Regions from separate parts of the Homo sapiens genome. Here regions 1 and 2 are each linked to region 3. Evidence: promoter capture Hi-C in human tissues and cell types (Jung and others, 2019). All regions are on one chromosome and are shown on one strand. The core of a region is centred on a gene start or on the middle of the fragment in contact, and the rest is flanking DNA. Distances in the headings are between cores, read along the strand shown.

Region 1 (4,795 bases), core at 1,751-4,250, 400 kb before region 3:
ACAGGTGTTGGAGAGGATGTGGAGAAATAGGAACACTTTTACACTGTTGGTGGGACTGTAAACTAGTTCAACCATTGTGGAAGACAGTGTGGTGATTCCTCAAGGATCTAGAACTAGAAATACCATTTGACCCAGCCATCCCATTACTGGGTATATACCCAAAGGATTAGAAATCATGCTGCTATAAAGACACATGCACACATATGTTTATTGTGGCACTATTCACCATAGCAAAGACTTGGAACCAACCCAAATGTCCATCAATGATAGACTGGATTAAGAAAATGTGGCACATATACAGCATGGAATACTATGCAGCCATAAAAAATGATGAGTTCATGTCCTTTTTAGGGACATGGATGAAGTTGGAAACCATCATTCTCAGCAAACTATCACAAGGAAAAAAAACCAAACACCACATGTTCTCACTCATAGGTGGGAATTGAACAATGAGAACACTTGGACACAGGGTGGGGAACATCACACACTGGGTCCTTTTGTGGGGTGGAGGTATGGGGGAGGGATAGCATTAGGAGATATACCTAATGTAAATGACGAGTTAATGGGTGCAGCACACCAACATGGCACATGTATACACATGTAACAAACGTGCACGTTGTGCACATGTACCCCAGAACTTAAAGTGTAATAAAAAATATATATATTAAAAAAATAACAAAAAAGTGCTAATTGTAAAAAACAACAAAAAAAAGATTTCGAATTTAGTTTGAACCTTCAATGTATACCTTAAGCAAGTGACTTGAAGGAAATTTGAATGCTGTGTGCCTTCTCCCAGCTCTGCCTCACTGAGGATGGGAACCCAGTGGCACCTGAGACTCCTGGATGTAGTGCCTGGGTGACATTCCTGTGGAGAAAAGCACTTTAGGGCCAGTCTCTAGATGTCTTCTCATGAGTCTTCTGCTTTCACATGAAGCTTTTTAGAAGACAGAAGGAAAAAAATGTGAGAAGAAATACCTTACCCTTCCAGAAGATAGACCTGTTGTGCAGAGGTGCATACAACTGAGGACAGGGTTCAACGTTTTAAATTTCCACGTAGTTTCTGTGACTTCATTTAAGAGACCGTTTTTTGAATTCCATGGTTCCAATTTGTGTCTATTTTCCTGTTCACATAAATTTATAGGAATATACATGCCAGCTGTGAGAGATGACTTTATTTCACTGTTGCTCTTATATCCCCCTACAGTTGTCACAAGGACACCGATATCACACAGTGACATGAACCTAGACATATAGTACACTTGGCAGAAGAATTTGCCAGGTCTAGCCCAGCAGTCCATTCAATGATCTAAAATTGTGATACAGAGAAAAACAGAAACACATATGAAACACTATAGTCAAGATACCCTGAAGTAAAAAACAGAGTAATTTTGACTGATGCATGACACATGCAGAGCCATATTGCACATGTATGTGCATATGTAAGGATCATATTGTATGATCATATTGTATGATCCTTCTCTATAATCTGTGTTTATAGGGCATATCTATGTACAACCTCTATTACACAGAATTAGGCTCAGCCAGAAGGGGGCCAAGATGGCCAACTAGAAGCAGCTATGGTGCATGGCTCTCACAGAGAAGAATGAAAGGGATGAGTAAACACAGCACCTTCAACTGAAATATCCAAGTACTCACACTGGAACTGATCAGGAAAACAGCTCCACCCATGGAGAATGGAAAAAAGCAGGGCAGGGTGACAGCCCACCCAGAAGTGACAAAGAGCCAAGGGGAACCCCTTCGCCTGTGCAGGGAAGTGATGAGTGAATGTGTGAAAATAAACTCCAAACCAGAATTTCATATCCAGCCAAACTAAGCTTCATAAGCAAAGGAGAAATAAGCTCCTTTTCAGACAAGCAAATGCTGAGAAAATTTGTTACCACCAGACCAACTTTACAAGAGCTCATGAAGCTCAGAAGTGTCCCACAACTACATGGAAATTGAACAGCCTGCTCCTGAATGACTCCTGGCTAAATAATGAAATTAAGGCAGAAATCAGGAAGTTCTTTGAAACCAATGAGAACAAAGAGACAATGTACCAGAATCTCTGGGACACAGTTGAGGCAATGTTAAGAGGGAAATTATACCTCTAAATGACCTTATTCAAAAGCTAGAAAAATCTCAAGTTAACAACCTAACATCACAACTAAAAGAACTGGAGAACCAAGAGCAAACAAACCTCAAATCTAGAAGACAAGAATCAACCAAAATAAGAGTTGAACTGAAGAAGATACACACACACACACACACACACACACACACACACACACACACAAATTCAAAAGATCAATGAATCGAGGAGCTTGTTTCTTGAAAAAAAGTAATAAAATAGATTGACCACTAGCTAGACTAATAAGGAAGAAAAGAGAGAAGATTCAAATAAACACAATCAGAAATAATAAGGGTGATATTACCACTGACCCCACAGAAATACAACCATCTGAGAATATTATAAACAACTCTATGCACATAAACTAGAAAATCTAGAAGAAATGGATAAATTCCTGGACACATACACCCTCCCAAGATTGAATCATTGAATCCCTGAATAGACCAATAATGAGTTCTGAAATTGAGGCAGTAATAAATAGCCTACCTACCAAAAAAAAAAAAAAAAAGCCCAGTACCACATGGATTCACAGCTCAATTCTACCAAATGTACAAAGAAGAGCTGGTACCATTCCTGCTGAAAGTATTCCAAAACAATTGAAAAGGAGGGACTCCTTCCTAACATTGTATGAGGCCAACATCATCCTGATACCAAAACCAGGCACAGATACAACAAAAAAAGAAAACTTCAGGCCAATATGCTTGATGAACATTGATGCAAAAATCCTCAATAAAATATTGGCAAACCGAATCCAGCAGCACATCAAAAAGCTTATCCACCGTGATCAAGCAGGCTTCGTCCCTGGGATGCAAGGTTGGTTCAACATATACAAATCAATAAATGTGATTCATCACATAAACAGAACTAAAGACAAAAGCCACCTGATTATGTCAATAGATCCAGAAAAGGCTTTGATAAAATTTAACAACCTTCATGTTAAAAACTCTCAATCAACTATGTATTGAAGGAATCAGAGCCATATATGACAAACCCACAGCCAATATCATACTGAATGGGCAAAAGCTGGAAGCATTCCCCTTGAAAACTGACACAAGACAATGATGCCCTCTGTCACCACTCCTATTCAACATAGTATTGGAAGTTCTGGCCAGGGCAATTAGGCAAGAGAAAGAAATAAAGTGTATTCGAGTAGGAAGAGAGGAAGTCAAACTATCCCTGTTTGACCCCATCATCTCTGCCCAAAAGCTATTTATTTATTTATTTATTTATTTATTTATTTTGGGATGGAGTCTTGCTGTGTCACTCAGGCTGGAGTGCAGTGGCACAATCTTGGCTCACTGCAACCTCCGCCTCCCGGGTTCAAGCGATTCTCCCGCCTCAGCCTCCTGAATAGCTGCTACTACAGGTGTGTGCCACGACGTCTGGCTAATTTTTTCTATTTTTAGTAGAGACAGGGTTTCACTATGTTAGCCAGGATGGTCTTGGTCTCCTGACCTCATGATCCACCCGCCTCGTGAACCTACCCCCCGTGCACCTACCCCCCGTGCACCTCAAGACTCACCGCCCACAGCCTCGCTCAGGAAGATGGGCAGCAGCTCAGCACTCAGCCATGCCAGGTGAGGTGTGTGAGGCCTGGGCCAGGCCGTGGCACCACCAGCAAGTCGCCCTGGCGGATGCGCAGCAGGGCCACGTGTGCCCGCAGCAGGCTCAGTGAGTGCTGCAGCAGGCTCCACAGCTGCCCAGAGAAGCCTACATCAAAGTCACGCAACAGTATCTCCTCCGTCAGCCAGGAGAACTCCCCTAGGAGCTGCTACAGGAACACACCCTGGGTGGGCAAAGCAGGGCTGAGCAGCAGGGCCACACATCCACCCCCCCACCCCAACCGCCCAGGTCCCCACCACATTGCACCCCCTACCTTCTGATGCTTGAAGAGCAGCAGCGTCGCCATGATGGCCGTGCTCATCACCGCAGAGCTCCCCACACTGGCTGGAGTGGGGCGGAGGGTGGAGATGCTGGTCAGGTTGAGGCCCAGCAGCCTGGTCCCTCCATGATCTGGCAAGTCTTCCTAGCCACACATCCCAACTCCACCCCAGGGATGAGGAACGTATGCCCGGAGCAGTGGTGTTTATCATCACACACAGGCTGAGAGCAGGCCAGGAGCTGGGGGCCTTTCCCTAGATCTCATCGTAGGGCCCACACATCAACCCACAGCCTCTACTAGAGGGGCACTGAAGAAGATACAGATGGATCTCCCTATAAGGGCCCTCTGCAGAGGCACTATGCTAAGCCCCTTACACGTATCATTCCATTCAGTTAACACCATCCCCACCCAAAGCTAAGGAGACTCCGCTCAGAAGGCAGGGCTGGGTGTGGCCTTGGGGAAGCAGCTGCAGCCTCCTGGCCTCAGGCCACCATCTCTGTGCATGCACTTAGCTGCTCCCTCATGATGGCCCTGGCTGCCTGCTCCTCCTGTAGGAGGAGGGTTCCATTCTTCTTCAGATGTCCCCGAGGTACCACAGAGGGCCTCAGGTGCAGACACTCACTTGGAATGGAGAACCCTGGTGACTGGCTGACCCCGACAGAGGGGACGGTTCAGTGACCCACCCTCAAAGGCCCAGATCTGGTTCACCCTCACCACTCAGGACATGACAGCTCAGTCTCCTGACCAGGAGCTGGTCCTCTTCCTTGAGGGCCAGGAGAGGCCCA
Region 2 (4,627 bases), core at 440-2,939, 320 kb after region 3:
AGAAATGTCTATTCAGAGCCTTTGCCCATTTAAAAAGTTATTTTTTATTATTATTGAGTTCCTTATAGTTTCTAGATATAAGCCCCCCTATCATACATGCTTTACAGAAGTTTTTACCCATTCTGTGGAATATATATATTTTTATTTCTTTGCATACTCTTTCTGCCCCACCCACATCCTCTTTCTGGGACACTGATGACCAAAATGTTGAATCTTTTACTATTGTCCCGTGAGTCCCTGAGGCGCTGTTTATTTTTTTTCCAGTCTGTTTTCTCTGTGTTGCTCAGTTTAGGTAATTTCTATTGTTTTATCTTCAGAATAACTGGTTATTTACTCTTTCCTTTCCATTCTGCTCTTGAACCATCCATGCAGTACTTTAACTTTGACTGTCATTGTATATTTCAGTTAAAATTTCCATTTGGTTTATTTTTTATGTCTTCTCTTTATTTGCTGAGGCTATTTGCTGAGACTTTTTTTTTCTTTAAATGGCTTCAAGAGTGTTTATAATTGCTCACTGAAGCATTTTTATGGTGGCTGCTTTAAAATCTTTGTCATCAGGTAGGTGTGGTGGCTCACGCCTATAACCCCAGCACTTTGTGAAGGTGAGGCAGGAGGATTGCTTCAGCCCAGGAGTTTGAGATCAGCCTAGGCAACAAAGTGAGACCTCATCTCTACAAAAAGTAAAAGTAAATTTAAAAGTTAGACACACATGGTGGTGTATGCCTGTAGTCCCAGCTACATAGGAGGCTGAAGTGGGAGGATCATTTGATTGCAGGAGGTTGAGGCTGCAGTGAGCCTTGTTCATGCCACTCCAGCCTGGGTGGCAGAGTGAGACCTTGTCTCCAAAAAAAAAAAAAAAATTGTCATAAAGTTTCAACATCTGTGTCATCTTAGTGTTGACATCCCTTGAGGTTTTTTCTCATTCAAGTTTACAATGTCCTAGTTCTTGTTATGATGAGTGACTTTGGCTGTATCCTGGTCATCTTCACTGTTATGAAGCTCTGGGAGTTATTTAAATCTCTCAGCATGCTTCCTCTGACGGTGCTGGTATGGGATGGGGCACTGCCTCGTTACTGCCTGGTGAGGATGGAGATCCAGGTTTCCTCCTGTCGCTGTCCTCGGGACCTCTGCTGAGGCCTTTCTGCTGGAAGTAGGAGGAGCACCCTAATGGCACCGTGGGATAGGGAGCAGGCCATGTTAGGCTGGATGGTGAAAGTTTTCAGCCTGTGACGTTGTCTGGTGTGGGTGGGTCCCCTTTTTTTGTGTGTGGTATTTTGCTAGAGTAAGGTAGTTATTTCCTAAAACTTATCTGTCCTGTTAGTTTTCCTTCTTAAGTACCTAACAAATATAAAGACAATGAACTTTAAGCAATAAAAGACAATGATCCTTTGGAGAGGGGAAACAAAATTATCTGTACTTACTATCTGCGGAGAGTCCGTGGTTCTAGGAAGGGTTACCCCATCAGGACCTGGCGGTCTCCTGGAGTTGAGGTGCAGTTGGGCAGTCGAAATGACTAGAGTTCACAGGGGAGAATGCCTTGGAGGAGAGAGTTGCACAGCAGGAGAACTAAGATCTGCAGAGAGTTTCCATCAGATATTTAGTTACACACTAATAGTGCATGCCGGTGAGGAAACTCACCCAAAAGAATTAGAGGGAACAGTGTTTGGAGTGGAAAATAGTGCCTGTTATCAACAGTCACAGTGGAAAACCTTGTAATCTAGGTGGCATTGGAAGAGAACTAAGATGCCCTAGTAGTAGAAAAATTAACTCTACATAAAAACTACCCCTGGTCCCAACTCAGAAAGCTTAAAAACAAGACCAAACTGGAACACAACTGTTTCAAAGTAACTTAATTGTGTTCCAGAACAAAGCTCAAGAATATAGGAATACAAAAAATATACCCAATAAAGTAAAATATACAATACTTGGCATCTAATAAATCACTAGGCAGCCAGGCGCGGTGGCTCACGCCTGTAATCCCAGCACTTTGGGAGGCCCGAGGCAGGCGGATCACCTGAGGTCAGGAGTTTGAGACCAGCTTGACCCACATGGAGAAACCCCATCTCTACTAAAAATACAAAAAAATTAGCCAGGCGTGGTGACACATGCCTGTAATCCCAGCTACTTGGGAGGCTGAGGCAGGAGAATCGCTTGAACCAGGGAGGTGGAGGTTGTGGTGAGCCAAGAACATGCCATTGCACTCCAGCCTGGGCAACAAGAGCGAAACTCCATCTCAAAAAAAACAAAAACAAAAACAAAAATACTAGGCATGCAAAGAAGCATGAACATAAGCTCATAATGAAGTGAAAAATTAGTCCATCAAAACTGACCCAGGAATGGCACAATGACAATCAGTAGACAAGGACATTAAAGCAGGTATTATGACTGTATTCCATATGTTCAGAAAGCTAGAGAGAAAAACATGGAAGATACAAAACACCAAGTTGAACCTCTAGAGATGAAAACTGCAATATCTGATGAAAAACGCTGAATGGGATTAACAGCAGATTGGACATCTCAGAAAAAGATATGAAAGAATTGGAAGACAGCAACTTAAACAGGAAAAAGACTGAAGAAGGTAGGAGAAATTGGGCATTAGAGAACTATGGGACAACTTTGGGAGCCAAATACGTGTATAATTGGAGTCCGTGGAGAAGGGAGGTATAAAAAACAATTTGAAGAAATGGCCGGGCGCAGTGGCTCACGCCTGTAATCCCAGCACTTTGGGAGGCTGAGGCGGGTGGATCACGAGGTCAGCAGTTCGAGACCAGCCTGGCCAACATGGTGAAACCCTGTCTCTACTAAAAATACAAAAATTAGCCAGGCATGGTGGCAGGCGCCTGTAACCCCAGCTACTCCAGAGGCTGAGGCAGGAGAATCACTTGAACCCAGGAGGCGGAAGTTGCACTGAGCCGAGACCGCGCCATTGTACTCCAGCCTGGGTGACAGAGCAAGTCTCAAAAAAAAGTTTTTTTGAAGAAATAATAGCTGAATTGATGGCAACTACTGAGACCCAAGAAATATAATAACTATCAATCAAATTTCAACTAGCAATAAAGAGGAAGTTTTAGAAGTGAGGAAGAGAGAGAAGATTAGGTACAGAGGAACAAAGGTAAAGATGACAGCAGCTTTCTTGTAGGAAACAAGCCAGAAGCAGGAGGAGCCTGGTAGGTGTTCACTGTGGGGACATGGTAAGTTCCTGGAGGTAAAACTCGTAGAAATGTTCCCCACCAGGACTGGGTCCCTCTGGAGTTTTCACCTTTCAAATTTGGCCGCACTGAGCGTCTAGCAATTCATCAGTTAAGTTGAGTTTTCCCTACCCTGAACTTCTTCCTGGAATGGTTCTGCCAGTGGGTTTCTGCTCTGGTAAGTTGTGATTCTTTGAGTCTAGCCAATTTCTCAACTTCTGGAGACACCAGTTTGCCCTGTGAACTCAATTCTTTGATAAATCTAAGAAGAGGTTTTGATTTTTCAGTTTATTTAAGTTTTTACTTATTAGTATGGAGTGTTGGCCTCCAGGCTCCTTATACACCAGACCAGAAACCAGAAGTCTAAACATGTCAATTAAACAGTAGAAATTACCAGATTTCATTTTTAAAAAGCAAGACCCAACTATATGTTGCCTATAAGAAATCCACTTTAGATATGAAGACTGATAGGTTGAAAGTAAAAGGGTGGAAAAATAAACCACGCTAATGTAAGTTCATAGAAAGCTGAAGGATATGTTAATACTAGACAATGTAAATTTCAGAGCAAGGACTATTATTAGGGATAAAGAGGGCCATTTTATAATAATAATTCATCAGGACAACATAGCAGTCCTAAACATTCAGACACCTACAAATAGAACTTCAAACGCATAAAGCAAAAACTGATTGGACTACAGAGAAAAATAGAGCCACAATTAATAGAGATTTTAACATCCCTGTCTCAGTAATTGGCGCAAATAGAATTGGTAAGGATATAGAAGATGTGAGCAGCATTATCAGCCAGCTTGGACTTCATTGGCTTCTTTTTTCTTCTTTTCATTTTTAAGAGATGGGGCCTTTCTCTGTTGCAGAGGCTGGAGTGCAGTGACACAATCATAACTCACTGCAGCCTGGAACAATGAAACTCAAGGGATCCTCCCACCTCAGTCTCCTGAGCAGCTGGGACTGTAGGCTTGTGCCACTGGACTCAGCTGATTTTTAATTTTCAATTTTTTTTGTAGAGATGGGGGCCTCACCTTTTTGCCGATGCTGGTTTTGAACTCCTGGCCTCAACCAATCCTCCTGCTGTGGCCTGTCATTGACTTATAGAACACTCTACCACCAACAGCAAAATACATACTGTTTTCAAGGGCATACAGGACAGTTACCAAGATGGACTATGTTCTGGGCCATAAAACAAGTCTCAATAAATTTAAAAGGATTTAAGTCATACAGAGTATATATTCTGATCACAGTGGGTTTACATTAGAAATCAGTAGCATCTGGAAAATCCAAATATTTGGAAACTAAATGACACCTAAATAACCATGAGAAAGAACAAAAATAAAAAGGGGGAAATTAGCATTTTGAACTGAACAGACTAAAGCTACAGTCATTTACCTTGTGGTACCAGTGAAGATAGACACAGATCAATGGAA
Region 3 (4,491 bases), core at 1,395-3,894:
TACGCAGTAAGTCCCAGGGATTCCAGCGTTCCTTCAACCAGTGCTTTCTGAAAGTTCCCACTGTGCTTGGCTCTGCTGTAGGTATTGGGGAAACAATGTAGGTGAAACTCAGCCCTGCCATTCTCCCTGCACAGGTCACAGATGTTAACAACTGACGTAAGATTCAGCTATCAGGACTAATGCTGTGAAGATGGTCAGGGGCTCTACCCTTCTCTAGTTTCTGGAGGAAGTGATGTGAGCTGAGCTGGGCTAAATGAGCAGGACCAGGAATTAGCTGGGTGGCAGCCCAGCATGGGCAAGTGACGCTGGTGAAACTGGCTTCACAGTGGCCATAAACAATTTTTTAAATGCTATTTTGGTCCTGTTAACCTCCTACTTAAAATGGTTTCCACTGCTCACATGATCAAGCTAGAACCTCTACCAGGCTGTCCCAGTCTTCTAGGAGCAGCGCCCCCACCTGCCTCTCCAGATAATAATTATTTCGTTTCTCCTGATAGAGAACAAGTTGCCTGAGGGAAGAGGCTGCAGACAAACAACAGGGTCTGGGCCTGACAGCCATCACTTGTCATCTCCCTGGGTCCAGGGCACATGTCTGTCTCTTTCACTGCCCAGCACTGTGCCTGGTGCACAGAAGGCTCTCAGTGACTTTCTGCTGAATGAACAAATAAGTGACAGAAGCAGGGGCTTGACATTTCACTACTTGGGAAAGCTTAGTGCTTGTTAACTTCAGGAGACATGGCTGTGCCTTCCCACAAGGGCCAGTTGTAGTGGCTCATGCGTGATATCCCTAACAATTTGGGAGGCCGAGGTGGGTGGATCACTTGAGGTCAGGAGTTCAAGACCAGCCTGGCCAACGTGGTGAAACCCCGTTTCCACTAAAAATACAAAAAACTCGCCGAGTGTGGTGGCAGCCACCTGTAATCCCAGCTACTAGGGAGGCTGAGACACGAGAATCGCTTGAACCCAGGGGAAGGAGGTTGCAGTGAGCTGAGATCGCGCCACTGCACTCCAGCCTGGGTGACAGACGAAGACTCCATCTCAATTAAAAAAAAAAAAATCCTCAGGGCTCAGATCCTGTTTTGAGTCCAAGGCTCCACTTAAAGACAAACACTATTCTCTTGTTTTGTTCTTAATCCACGTCTGGCCTCTATTCCTTACCACATGGTGCCTTCCCTGAATGGTTCCTTGCTCTTACAACAAAGGCGGTATTGTACAGCCTTCTATGCCCAAAAATGTGGAGGCAGCTGATCCCCAGACTCTTGGTCCTCACCTGGAGATTCAATCTGCCTTGTTCAGTTGAAGATTCATTAGACTTAGGTCACCACTGTTGTGGCCCACCAGTTTGACTAGAAAACCGAGGGCTTTGACTTCTCTGCCCTGCTGTCTTACACAAGCACCAACTGTGCCACTGTCAAAAGGCTGTTCGAGCCAATGTGCACACACTCAGACACTCCACATGCTAACATAACAGTAACTGCTGCCGCTGAATGCCAACTATTAAGTGCTCTACCTACAATGTCTGATTTAATTCTCGACAATTGTGGAAGGTAGGTACTGTTAGCCTCATTTTACAGATGAAACAATTAAGGCTTAAAGAGGTTAAGAGATTTGCCCAAGGTTACACAGTCCTAGAGCTAGGAGAGGAAGGAGCTGGGATGTGAATCCAAGTCCAGGTGACATGAAGTCCTTGGTTCAGAAGCTTGTAATGCAAGCAAAAAAATCCAGCTTCAGCCCCCATCCCCCTACCAAGGCCATTTTAACCCAGAATGTTGTGGTGAGAAGTGGGGACCTTCCATAGGAAATCCTCCAAAGTCTCTAAAGATTGTAGTGAGAAGTAGGGACCTCCCACAGGAGATCCTCCAGAGGCCGTAACTGCTAACAGACATGCGTGGGGAAACTACAGGCGCCCTCTGGCTGTTGCCTCAGGGACGAGGCTGGTTACCAGCTCTCCAAGAGAACCCCAGGCCCCACTGACTGTTCCCTTCCCACATGACACACACATGCAGGTTCATTCCAACCTTACAGCAATCTCCTCAGGTAGAGCGCCCTCACTTTAAAGAAGAGGACACTGAGACTCAAAGGGATGATGTCAGGTGCCCAAGGTACTAGTCAGAAAGTGGCCCTGGGGCTTCTGCAACAACCACTATATCACACAGCCCGAGCTCAATCCAACTCTGCAAGAGTCCATAAGCAAAGGGGCGGCGACATGAGGTGGAAACAGTAGCCTCCATCAAACAAAGCCTGAGACATGGGTGTGCACGTCGGATTCCATCCCACCGTCCACTCGCCTGGAACCCGTGCCGGTCCCCCAGTTTCCCCATATGCCCAGCTCCAGCCCCGACAGTTAGTGAGTGCTCACACAGGTCCGCCCCGTCTGTGTGGTCAGAAGCGGCTGGGGATCCGGTACTAGTTCTGCGCTCCGCGGGAGACCGGCGCCACGGACACCCTTCTGGCCTAGACCCAGCCAGGCTCGTCCTACCTGGCCGCGGCGGCCGATCTTCCTGCGCTGTAGGGTTAGAGCTCGCGGGGCCGAAGGTCAAGGGCGGCGGGCGCCTGAGCACTGCCACCAGTGACCGCAGCCAGCCGGGGAAATGCAGCAGCTGCTAACCCAGGGCCACTCGGCCGGATCACCCGAGAGAAAAGCGGGCGCGATCCTGTGACGTCACAGGCAATGGCCACTAGCAGGGCGCCAATCCCGGAGGGGCGGGCCCATCGTGGGGCGGGCGGCTCCGGCGGGTCTTCAGGCTACGGGTTCAGCCAGGCGCCAGCCGCGTTCTCTGGAGACGCTCTCTCTCGGAGGGACCCTGCACTTGCCTGAACTCGAGAGTGGGCGCTGCCCGAAGGTTTGTCCCTGGGCGCTTCGCTGGCCTCATCCGGTCTCGGCCTTGTTCTGGGCCTGGCGCCTTTCCCATTGTTGGGGAAAGTGGTCTAGGAGACCAAGGCAGCGTGCTGGGTGGCAGAGAATGATTTGTGGCTTCTGATTCTGACATATGTCGTTGAGGAGGGGAGGGATGACTGCCCCCGTTTTACTTATGGAGAACCTGGGGCCAGAGCTGTTTTCCCAGGGTGACACAGGCGGTGAGTAGTGGAGCTGGCATTCCTGACCCCAAAGCGCAGCGTTTCCCAGCCACTCTCCGCAGCCAGGCCTTCACCTGCACTGCTGGGCGCAGGTGGGGAAGTGGGGAAACGGGACTCCATCCCCTGCAGAGGGCAGGCGTGTAGGGAGTGGCAGCTGAACTCCACAGACAGCTACTGCTCAGCTCTTCAGCTGCCGACTTTGAACAGTGTGAGGGGCTCTGTACAAGTGGCCCCCACATTACTCAAGGACCAGATCATCAAGAGCTTTACTTGTCCCACGAAGGAGTCTGGACCTTGTTTACGTGCACAGGAGACCGCTGGAAGGTTCTCAGTGGCGTGCCATGTCCCGACTTCTATTTGAGAAGTTTTTCTCTGGCCACCCGTCTGAGGAAAGGTGTCTGGGTGGGTGGTGCGGTTGAGAACAATGGTGGTGCGGTGCGTGGTGGAGAAGGTGAGTGTCCAGAGATGTTCAGGAGGAAGAACTGACAGCTCTGAATGACAGGAGGTGGAAGTGAGAAGGAAGGAGGTACAAGGCCAACTCCTGGGTCTCTAGCTCGGTAGGTGCAGGGCCGTTCATGGAGACAGGGCTCCTGGAGGAGCAGCGGGTCTGGGGAGAGGATGGTGAGCTCCGATTTGCATGGGACATCCAAAGGGCATTGAACGGTGGGCAGTTGGAGACATGGGTCTGGAGCTTGGGACTTCAGCCTAGCTTGCAGAAGGTCACCACAGATATTGAAATGGAACCTATGGGGGTGGCTGTGATCAGGGGGATTCGCTGAGGAGAACCTGGCACAAGGGTTTCACTAAGCCATAGCTCCCAAAGACTTTCTGAAAAGCTAAGTTACAGCCTGGAAGAAAATATCTGTAAAGGCTATATTTGATAAAAAGACTTGTATCCAGAATATAGAAAGAATGCTTAAAAGTCAGTAGATAAAATCAAACAATTCAATTTTTTAGATGGACAAAATATTTGAACTGACATTTCATCAAATAAGATATACAGACAGAAAATTGGGACATGAAGGCTGGGCGCAGTGGCTCACGCCTGCAATCCCAGCATTTTGGGAGGCCGAGGCAGGCGGATCACAAGGTCAGGAGATCGAGACCATCCTGGCTAACACAGTTAAACCCCATCTCTACTAAAAATACAAAAAATTAGCCGAGCGTGGTGGTGGGCGCCTGTAGTCCTAGCTACTGGGGAGGCTGAGGCAGAAGAGTGGCGGGAACCCGGGAGGTGGAGCTTGCAGTGAGCCGAGATCGTGCCACTGCACTCCAGCCTGGGCGACAAAGCAAGACTCTGTCTCAAAAAAAAAAAGAAAGAAAAAATTAGGACATGAAAAGATGCTCAACATCATTAATCATTAAGGATATGCAAATTGCAAGCGCAATGTGACACCATCTCACACCTACTAG

What was found. Contacts are between HindIII fragments. The study calls those that stand out against the background at their distance.
Region 1: a contact is called between a fragment that was not itself captured here and the fragment with the promoter of FAHD2A in region 3, in 2 of the 25 tissues and cell types used here (aorta and dorsolateral prefrontal cortex).
Region 2: a contact is called between a fragment that was not itself captured here and the fragment with the promoter of FAHD2A in region 3, in 1 of the 25 tissues and cell types used here (H1 embryonic stem cells).

The regions. Positions count from the first base shown.
Region 1 is chr2:95,799,024-95,803,818 of GRCh38, reverse strand. It overlaps LOC128966744 (glycerol-3-phosphate acyltransferase 2, mitochondrial), which reads right to left. Exons shown (of 16, transcript NM_001422178.1): 13 at 4,725-4,795; 14 at 4,005-4,075; 15 at 3,706-3,914; 16 at 3,628-3,703. The coding sequence ends at 3,628. It also overlaps the pseudogene GPAT2P1. Among named protein-coding and RNA genes, the nearest start is that of LINC00342, 26 kb to the left of the region's middle. The HindIII fragment of the contact is 3,229 bases long and covers 1,386-4,614 here.
Region 2 is chr2:95,082,149-95,086,775 of GRCh38, reverse strand. MRPS5 (mitochondrial ribosomal protein S5) reads left to right here. Exons shown (of 12, transcript NM_031902.5): 12 at 1-1,407. Among named protein-coding and RNA genes, the nearest start is that of MRPS5, 37 kb to the left of the region's middle. The HindIII fragment of the contact is 8,892 bases long and covers 1-4,627 here.
Region 3 is chr2:95,400,861-95,405,351 of GRCh38, reverse strand. FAHD2A (fumarylacetoacetate hydrolase domain containing 2A) reads right to left here and starts at 2,644. Exons shown (of 8, transcript NM_016044.3): 1 at 2,480-2,644. RefSeq lists enhancers at 1,736-1,855, 1,996-2,934, 2,926-3,005, 2,935-3,874. The HindIII fragment of the contact is 15,771 bases long and covers 1,205-4,491 here.